Regions from separate parts of the Homo sapiens genome. Here all the other regions are linked to region 1. Evidence: promoter capture Hi-C in human tissues and cell types (Jung and others, 2019). All regions are on one chromosome and are shown on one strand. The core of a region is centred on a gene start or on the middle of the fragment in contact, and the rest is flanking DNA. Distances in the headings are between cores, read along the strand shown. Region 1 holds the start of DHRS2 (dehydrogenase/reductase 2). Region 2 has its middle 11 kb from the start of CARMIL3. Region 3 has its middle 21 kb from the start of DHRS4L2.

What was found. The method cuts DNA at HindIII sites, captures the fragments that hold promoters and counts their contacts. A contact is called where the count stands out against the background at its distance.
Region 2: a fragment that was not itself captured here is called in contact with the fragment with the promoter of DHRS2 in region 1 in 3 of the 25 tissues and cell types used here (bladder, dorsolateral prefrontal cortex and liver).
Region 3: a fragment that was not itself captured here is called in contact with the fragment with the promoter of DHRS2 in region 1 in 4 of the 25 tissues and cell types used here (bladder, dorsolateral prefrontal cortex, lymphoblastoid cells and 1 more).

Annotation. Positions count from the first base shown.
Region 1 is chr14:23,634,665-23,637,837 of GRCh38, reverse strand. DHRS2 (dehydrogenase/reductase 2) reads right to left here and starts at 1,474. Exons shown (of 9, transcript NM_005794.4): 1 at 1,066-1,474. The HindIII fragment of the contact is 10,677 bases long and covers 1-3,173 here.
Region 2 is chr14:24,039,228-24,042,400 of GRCh38, reverse strand. It overlaps the pseudogene DHRS4L1. Among named protein-coding and RNA genes, the nearest start is that of CARMIL3, 11 kb to the left of the region's middle. The HindIII fragment of the contact is 6,357 bases long and covers 1-3,173 here.
Region 3 is chr14:24,007,887-24,011,059 of GRCh38, reverse strand. It overlaps the pseudogene DHRS4L1. Among named protein-coding and RNA genes, the nearest start is that of DHRS4L2, 21 kb to the right of the region's middle. The HindIII fragment of the contact is 5,422 bases long and covers 1-3,173 here.

The sequences.
Region 1 (3,173 bases), core at 225-2,724:
TGACAGAGTGCTGATTGCTGTGTTTACAAACCTTTAGCTAGACACAGAGTGCTGATTGGTGCATTTACAATCCTTTCGCTAGACACAAAAGTTCTCCAAGTCCCCACCTGATTAGCTAGACATAGAGTGCTGCACCCTTGCTTGTCCTCCTAGACCATGAGGAGGACCGAGAAAAATCGGATTTAGTGGCCCTTACCGACGCATTCTCGAAAACCTGTTAGAGTCCTAAGCATTCTCCTGTTAGTATTGGGAACTTACCCGTGTCCTATAAAGATGTTATGCCCCAAAAATGAAGAAGAGTAACCTGAGGGAGGGAAGGGGTCTCCAGGGTTGGAAAAGTGACACCTTTTGTCCTCACTTATATGAATAGGAAGGATACAATTTCTGAGGCTCCCCCTATCCTAGCTTCAGGAATAGCTTTTGTTAGACCTGCTTATCTGAGGAGGGATTCTAAAATTCCAGATAGTTCCCCCTACAACTGGGCTTTGGGCAAAAATTATGTCTTTCTGATTGGTGAGCCCAGGTGCCTAAAGAAGGTAACAGAGTCCTGAAATTTTTACTAGAAATCATTCTTATAAGAGAAATTAGAAAAGCACCAGAGACAGGGAGTGGTTTTTTAGAAGTGGGACTAGCCTAGGAGAAGAGAGGAGAGAGAAAGTTTGTCTGGCAGGCATTAGGACCCAGCGAGCAAGGGTCAGGATAGATAGGATAGATAGGTGAGTCTCACTTGGGCAACATGCCTTTGAGAGTTCCGCTCATGGCCGCAGGGTCAACCAACTTGTTGTGGGGACTCCGGAGCTGAATGGCTTTCCTCTCTGTTGACCCTCAGCTCAGCCCAGAAGTACAGGAAAAGCGGAAGCTGGTTCCAGGCAAAACAACATTCCCAACTCCACAGAGCCAGGGGTTGTTAGAGATCCCTTTCCCAGAAAGCCTGACACCCACGTTTTTAGTCCAGCGGCTGCGCTAGTCACTTTTAACTGGCCGACAGGTGCCCAGAATTTAGCCACCGAATTCTAAGGAAAAATAGGACAGAATAGCAAATGAAAGGGATCTGATGGTACTCACCACTTGGCGATAGGTGATAGTCTCACCGCTTGGTGATGGTCTCACCACTTGGCAATAGTCTCACTGCTTGGCAATAGTCTCACCACTTGGTGATAGGTGACAGTCTCTTCAAAGTCACCAAAATGTGTACGGAATTGATGGGTTCTTGGCCTCACTGACTTCAAGAATGAAGTTGCAGACCCTTGCGGTGAGTATTACGGTTCTTAAAGATGGTGTGTCCAGAGTTGTTCATTCCTCTCGGTGCATTCGTGGTCTTGCTGGCCCCAGGAGTGAAGTTGCAGACCTTCGCGGTGAGTGTTACAGCTCTTAAAGGTGGCACGGACCCAACGAGTGAGCAGCAGCAAGATTTATCATGAAGACCAAAAGAACAAAGCTTCCACAGCGTGGAAGGGAACCAGAGCAGGTTGCTGCTGCCGGCTCAGGCAGCCTGCTTTTATTCCCTTAACTGGCCACACCCACATCCTGCTGATTGGTCCATTTTATGGAGAGCTGATTGGTCCATTTTACAGAGAGCTGATTGGTCTGTTTTACAGAGAGCTGATTGGTCCGTTTTGACAGAGTGCTGATTGGTGCATTTACAAACCTTTAGCTAGACACAGAGTGCTGATTGGTGCATTTACAATCCTTTAGCTAGACACAAAAGTTCTCCAAGTCCCCACCAGATTGGCTAGACACAGATTGCTGATTGGTGCATTTACAAACCTTTAGCTAGACACAGAGTGCTGATGGGTGCATTTACAAACCTTTAGCTAGACAGAAAAGTTCTCCAGGTCCCCACCGGACCCAGAAGCCCAGCCGGCTTCACCTCTCAATGGCACACACTGCAGGACTTTGCGGCACCTAGCCCAGGCACTCCAGCAGCCCAGAGGGAGCTCATCCCCCAGTCAGGCCCAGCTGGCACCGGCCGGCCCACGGAGCCCCTGCTGGCCGGTGAGTGCCCTGTACAGTGTGGGCTCCTGCCGGCGCCTCTCCCTCCACACCTCCTGGCGAGCAGAGGGAGCTGGCTTCGGCCTTGGCCAGCCCCAGAGAGGGGCCCCCACAGTGCAGTGGTGGGCTGAAGGGCTCCTCAAGTGCAGCCAGAGTGGATGTGGAGGACGAGGAGGCACCAAGAGTGAGCAAGGGCTGCTAGCATATTGTCACCTCTCACTTCTAGTTGAAAAAGCAAAATCAACAGAAACTCTCATTCACTGCTGGGTAGAGGGTAAGTACAATCACTTTGGGAAATGATTTGGCATTATACGGAGAAGTTGAAAATAAAGATCTCTGACTCTGTAGAGGGAACTTGCATCCTGCAGACAGGAGGTCATGTGTGCACCAAGAGACTGTACACACAGGTTCAGAGAAGCCTGCTTAGAATGTTCCAAACTGGAAACAAGTCTGTATTAGTTTGTTTTCACACTGCTATAAAGAACTAACTGAGGCCAGGCACGGTAGCTCACACCTGTAATCCCAGTACTTTGGAAGGCCAAGGTGGGCAGATCCCTTGAGCTCAGGAGTTTGAGACCAGCCTGGGCAACAAGGTGAAACCATGTCTCTATAAAAATTAGCTGGGTGTGGTGGTGCATGCCTGTAGTCACAGCTACTCGGGAGACTAAGATGGGACGATTGCTTGAGCCCAGGAGGTCAAGGCTGTGGTAGGCTGAGATTGCACCACCGTACTCCAGCCTGGGAGAGAGAGCAAGACCCTGTCTCAAAAAAAAAAAGAACTACCTGAGACTGGGTAATTTATAAAGAAAAGAGGTTTAATTGACTCACAATTCCACAGGCTGTACAGGAAGCATGGCTGGGAAGGCCTCAGGAAACTTACAATTAAGGCAGAAGGTGAAATGAAGCAGGCAGAACTTACACAGCTGGAGCAGGAGGAAGTGAGAGCAAAGGGGGAGGTGCTACACACTTCCAAACAACCAGATCTCATGAGAACTCACTCACTATCACAAGAGCAGCAAGGGGGAAATCTGCCCCCATGATCCAATCACCTTCCACTAGGCCCCCTCCTCCAACATTGGGGATTACAATTCGACATGAGATTTGGGCAGGGACACAGACCTAAACCATATCAAAGTCTATATGCCTATTAACGGTGGAATGGATAAACAAACTGTGTTGCA
Region 2 (3,173 bases), core at 240-2,739, 400 kb before region 1:
AAAACATCTTTTTTGAAAACTACCCTAAGATCTGCTGCTAACCATTTAAGGTTGGCTTCTTTCTTTTTTTAGATGGAGTCTTCCTCTGTCACCCAGGCTGGAGTTCAGTGGCATGATCCCAGCTCACTGCAGCCTTGACCTACTGGGTTCAAGCCATCCTCCTGCCTCAGCCCCCCAAGTAGCTGAGAATACAGGTGCGTGCCATCACACCTGGGCAATTTTTGTACTTTTTGTAGAGACAGGGTCTTGCCATGTTGCCCAGGCTGGTCTGGAACTCCTGAGCTAAAGCCATCCGCCTGCCTCGGCCTCTCAAAGTGTTACAGGTGTGAGCCACCAGGAAGTTGGCCTTATTTCTTTTGCAGTGTTTTCTTCCCACCTCCTATTCTTCTAAGGCTGTCTCTGACCCTATGCTCTTTTCTTTACATTTTCCCATTTGGGAGCTCCTTCATTCTCGTGATTTCAAATCTCACCCCAAAATCTATTTCCAGACCCCTCCTCTTCCTTTCACACTGAGTTCCACCCACATTTCTCCAAGTGCTTACTGTCCAGTTCTTCTTGAATAAGTTACCATTATTTCAAAGTCAATCTGGCCACACTTACCTGAATGGAAAAACTGGCTTAAATAGAGCTGTAGAAAGTTACCCTGGAGGGGCCTTTGAGATCATCTATTCCAATGTCCTTAAGGTGGAGATGATGAAACAGGTTCAGGGAATTTTCTCAAGATCATATAGTTCAGTAGTAACACACTGGGGCTAGCTAAGAACAGGAGGCCTGCTTATTCCGTGTTGGGGAAAGTGATTTGTTCAGGGCATAAAGCTAGTTAGTGGTGGAAGAACTGAGGTCAGTCTCCCACTTTGTAGCACAGAGCTAATTCGTAAGAGCCCTCTGAAAGTGAGCTGGGGTCATTAGGAAACCGGCTGCCCAGGAGAGCCATGATGGGAGAAGATACCAGCCTGAATTTAAAGCAATTCCATATTTGGTTATGATGTCATTTTCCCTGTCTCTGTCTCTCTCTTTTGACCTGGAGGCATGAAAGATTCAAGGCAGAAAGGGAAATTTAAACTGAGAAAGCCAAGAAAGGCAACATCTCACCTCCTTAATAAGTTATAAGTAGGTAGTGAGGCATGTGCTAGAGTAATGAATGGCCAAGCAGAATCTGCCAACAAGGGTTTTCAGTACAAAGCCACCCTGAAACCAGACTTTGCATTTGCCTGGAACTGGCAATTTTGATGCCTTGGGCAAGTAGCAGTACATGGGCCCTTGGTCAATTTTGTGCTCCGGATTTGGCCCACGGAGGGGTGTTATTAACAATGTACACCATCTGCTAGCTTCCCATTTTAACTAATTATTCTTGTTAACTAGGTGCTAACCTTCAACACAGTTGAAGAAATGCCTGGGCTGTCAACGTGTAAATCTAACAAAATTTAAAGTCAAGTACTCTTTTAAAACCAGTATGAATACTTTCTTGCACCCTTTAAATTTTGGTATCCTGGCACAAAGCCAAGTCACCTGCCTTGGCTCTGTGTAAGTCTCACCAATGTACTTGTTACTAGGGAGGTGCAGAATAAGTTAATAAGTGATGTGTGCTGTGCTCAGTGCACGTGTGTTTGGGCTGGGAGAAGACAGTGGATTGCTCCAGAATCACCTGGAGACATTTTCTACTCTGCTGCATACCCCATGCCCCTCTACTTCCAGGTCTGTCAGCACAGAGATGGGAGGAGGCTGGGTTTTGAATGAACAGAGACAGCAAACCATAAAAGATGAATGAGGCTGGGTGTGGTGGCTCACACCTATAATCCTAGCACTTTGGTACGGCCAGTAGGGAGGACCGCTTGAGGCCAGGAGTTCAAAACCAGCCTGGGCAATAAAGCCCCAACTCTACAACAAATTTAAAAGATGAACTGGCGTGGTGGTGCATGCCTATAATCTTAGCCACTTGGGAGGCTGACGGGGGAGGACTGCTTGAGCTCAAGAGTTGGAGGTTACAGTGAGCTATGATCATGCCACTGCACTCCAGCCTGGGCAACAGAGTGAGGCCCTGTCTCTGGGGGGAAAAGAAAAAGATGTCTTCTAAGTGTTCTAAATTGTGTGATCACTACACTAAAGTGGTTAGGAGCTGTTTGTTCTGTGTTCTGATAGTTATACATTTTTAAGAAAAAATATAATCAAGCAGATAGGCAGCTACTCTGGTTTCCACTTACAACACCAGTGAGAAGCTTCGTGGTGTGCAGATGAGGAGGCCACTGGGTAGTATCCATTCTCAGGGCAGTGGCTTTTCTCATTGCAGGGTAACATGTGACAACTGGCAGAAGACATTTCAAATTGCTGACAAGTATTCTATCATTCTCCTCTCTGACAATGGTCATACAAACTACCTGAGAGTCATTTTTGACTTCTCTATTTCCCACTTTTTGACATGGGGTTGGAAAATCTTGGTTCGTTTCCACTGAATGTCTCTTGGGCACATCTATTCCAGTCCCACCGCCACTGCTCTAAACCTGGACGACAGCAACAGCTTCCTCACTGATGCCCTGGATTTGGTGTCTCCTCTGTATATCCTTCCTACCAGAGCCAGATTAGCTTTCCTAATAACCATCTTTCTCTTGCTCAAAACCTCACATGGCTTCTTATTTGCTACAAGAGTGTGTAAACATATCCTTTTAAGAGGCTATATCCTTTTAAGGTCCTTAACGTATCCTTTTAAGAAGCTATGGCCGGGCGCAGTGGCTCACGCCTGTAATCCCAGCACTTTGGGAGGCTGAGTGGGTGGATCACCTGAGGTCAGGAGTTCAAGACCAGCCTGGCCAACATGGTGAAACCCCGTCTCTACTAAAAATACAAAAATTAGCTGGGCATGGTGGTGGGCACCTGTAATCCCAGCTACTCAGGAGGCTGAGGCAGGAGAATTGCTTGAACCTGGGAGGCAGAGGTTGCAGTAAGCCGAGATGGTGCCACTGTACTCCAGCCTAGGCGACAAGAGTGAAACTCCGTCACAAAAAAAAAAAAAAAAAAAAAAAAAAAAAAAAAAAAAAGATATGGAGGCCCATGGCCTCTATCTTTCCAATGCAGCCCCTTCCCCAGCAGTACTCCTGAGCCTGTGCTCTCCATTGTGGCCTGACAGTGCTCCTCTCTTTCCTTCAGTTCCTCCTTGGCTGTCTGCTCATTTTGCAGAG
Region 3 (3,173 bases), core at 275-2,774, 370 kb before region 1:
AGAAAAAGAGAGAGAGACCATAAGAGAAGGGAGACAATGAAACAAAAAGTGCGAGTGAGCAGGTGAGGAGAAAGATTGAAAACTATGAGAAACAACAACTAAGAGACAAAGGAGAAGGGAGACTGCCTGGGTGCCGGAGCACCCACACTGTCCTCTTGCCCCCATCACTTGGGTTAAAACCATTGGAAATTCCACTATTGCAAATTTTGTATTAATCCTTGTATGTCTGCCCTCTCTATTGTTAGTCTACAGGTGTATCCAGCAGTTCCAGAAAGACAGTGACCAGCAAAAACAGGCCATGGTGACAATGACAGTTTTGTCAAAAAGAAAAGGGGGATATGTAGGGAAAAGAAAGAGAGATCAGACTGTTACCGTGTCTATGTAGAAAGGGAAGACATAAGAGACTACATTTTGAAAAAGACCTGTACTTTAAATAATTGCTTTTCTGAGATGTTGTTAATTTTTAGCTTTGCCCCAGCCACTTTGACCCAACCACTTTGACCCAACCTGGAGCTCACAAGAACATGTGTTGTATGAAATCAAGGTTTAAGGGATCTAGGACTGTGTAGGACGTGCCTTGTTAACAAAATGTTTACAAGCAGTATACTTGGTAAAAGTCATCGCCATTCTCTAGTCTCAATAAACCAGGGGCACAGTGCACTGCAGAAAGCCGCAGGGACCTCTGCCCTTGAAAGCAGGGTATTGTCCAAGGTTTCTCCCCATGTGATAGTCTGAAATATGGCCTCCTGGGATGAGAAAGACCTGACTGTCCCCCAGCCCGACACCCATAAAGGGTCTGTGCTGCGGTGGGTTAGTAAAAAAGGAAGGCCTCTTGCAGTTGAGATAGAGGAAGGCCACTGTCTCCTGCCTGCTCCTGGGAACTAAAAGTCTCGGTATAAATCCCGATTGTACATTTGTTCAGTTCTGAGATGAGAGAAAAACCGCCCTATGGTGGGAGGCGAGACATGTTTGCAGCAATGCTGCCTCGTTATTCTTTACTCCACCGAGATGTTTGGGTGGAGAGAAACATAAATCTGGCTTACGTGCATGTCCAGTCATAGTACCTTCCCTTGAACTGAATTATTAGATTCTATTGCTCACGTTTGTTGCTGACCTTCTCCTTATTATCACCCTGCCCTCCTACTACATTCCTTTTTACTGAAATAATGACGATAATAATCAATAAAAACTGAGGGAACTCAGAGACCGGTGCCGGTGCAAGTCCTTGGTATGCTGAGCGCCGGTCCCCTGGGCTCACTGTTGTTTCTCTATACTTTGTCTCTGTGTCTTATTTCTCTTTCTCAGTCTCTCGTCCCACCTGACTAGAAATACCCACAGGTGTGGAGGGGCAAGCCACCCCTTCAAACAGTAGCAACCTGCTTGGGTCCCCTTCCACACTGTGGAAGCTTTGTTCTTTCGCTCTTTGCAATAAATCTTGCTGCCCCTCACTCTTTGGGTCCACACGGCCTTTATGAGCTGTAACACTCATCGTGAAGGTCTGCAGCTTCACTCCTGAGGCCAGTGAGGCCACGAACCCAGTGGGAGGAATGAACAACTCCGGATGGGAGGAACGAACAACTCCAGACATGCCGCCTTAAGAGCTGTAACACTCACTGTGAAGGTCCGCAGCTTCACTCCTGAAGCCAGCGAGACCACGAACCCACCAGAAGGAAAAAACTCTGAACGTGTCTGAACATCAGAAGGAACAAACTCCGGACACGCTGCCTTTAAGGACTGTAACACTCACTGCGAGGGTCCGTGGCTTCATTCTTGAAGTCAGTGAGACCAAGAACCCACCAATTCCAGACACACCTTCATTTTGAGCCTATGTGTGTCTTTGCACGTGAGATTGGGTCTCCTGAATACAGCACACCATATGGGTCTTGATTCTTTATCCAATTTGCCAGTCAGTGTCTTTTAATTGGGGCATTTATCCCATTTACATTGAAGGTTAGTATTGTTATATGTGAATTTGATCCTGTCATGACGTTAGCTGGTTATTTTGCCCATTAATTGATGCAGTTTCTTCATAGCATCAATGGTCTTTACAATTTCGTATGTTTTTGCAGTGGCTGGTACTGGTTGTTCCTTTCCATGTTTAGTGCTTCCTTCAGGAGCTCTTATTGTAAGGCAGGCCTGGTGGTGACAAACTCTCTCAGCATCTGCTTGTCTGTAAAGGATTTTATTTCTCCTTCACTTACGAAGCTTAGTTTGGCTGGATATGAAATTCTAGTTCCAAAAATCTTTTCTTTCAGAATGTTGAATATTGGTCCCGACTCTCTTCTGGTTTGTATGGTTTCTGCTGAGAGATCTGCTGTTAGTCTGATGGGCTTCCCTTTGTTGGTAACCCAACCTTTCTCTCTGGCTGCCCTTAACCTTGCTGAATCTGACAATTATGTGTCTTGGGGTTGCTCTTCTCAAGGAGTGTCTTTGTGATGTTCTCTGTATTTCCTGAATTTGAATGTTTCTTTTTTCTTTTCTTGTCTCTAATCTTGTGTTCTCACTTTATTTCATTAATTTTATATTCAATCACTGATATCCTTTCTTCCACTTGATTGAATCAGCTATTGAAGCTTGTGTATCCTTCATGAAGTTCTTGTACTGTGGTTATCAGCTCCATCAGGTCATTTAAGCTCTTCTCTAGATTCTTCATTCTAGTTAGCCATTCGTTTAACATTTTGTCAAGGTTTTTAGCTTCCTTGCAATGGGTTAGAACATGCTCCTTTAGCTGGGTGTAGTTTGTTATTACTGACCTTCTGAAGCTTACGTCTGTCAAGTCATCAAACTTATTCTCCATCCAGTTTTGTTCCCTTGCTGGTGAGGACTTGTATTCCTTTGGAAGAGAAGAGACGTTCTGATTTCTGGAAGTTTCAGCCTTTTTGCTCTGGTTTCTCTCCATCTTTGTGGTTTTATCTACCTTTGGTCTTTGATGTTGGTGACCTATGGATGGGGTTTTAGTGTGGATGTCCTTTCCTGTTCTGATGTTGATGCTGTCCTTTGCTGATGTTGATGCTATTCCTTTCTGTTTGTTAGTTTTCCTTCTAACAGGCCCCTCAGCTGCAGGTCTTTGGGGGTTTGCTGGAAGTCCATTCCAGACCTTATTTTCTTGGGTATCAGTAGAGGAGGCTGCAGAACAGCAAATATTGCTGCCTGATCCTTCTTCTGGAAGCTTT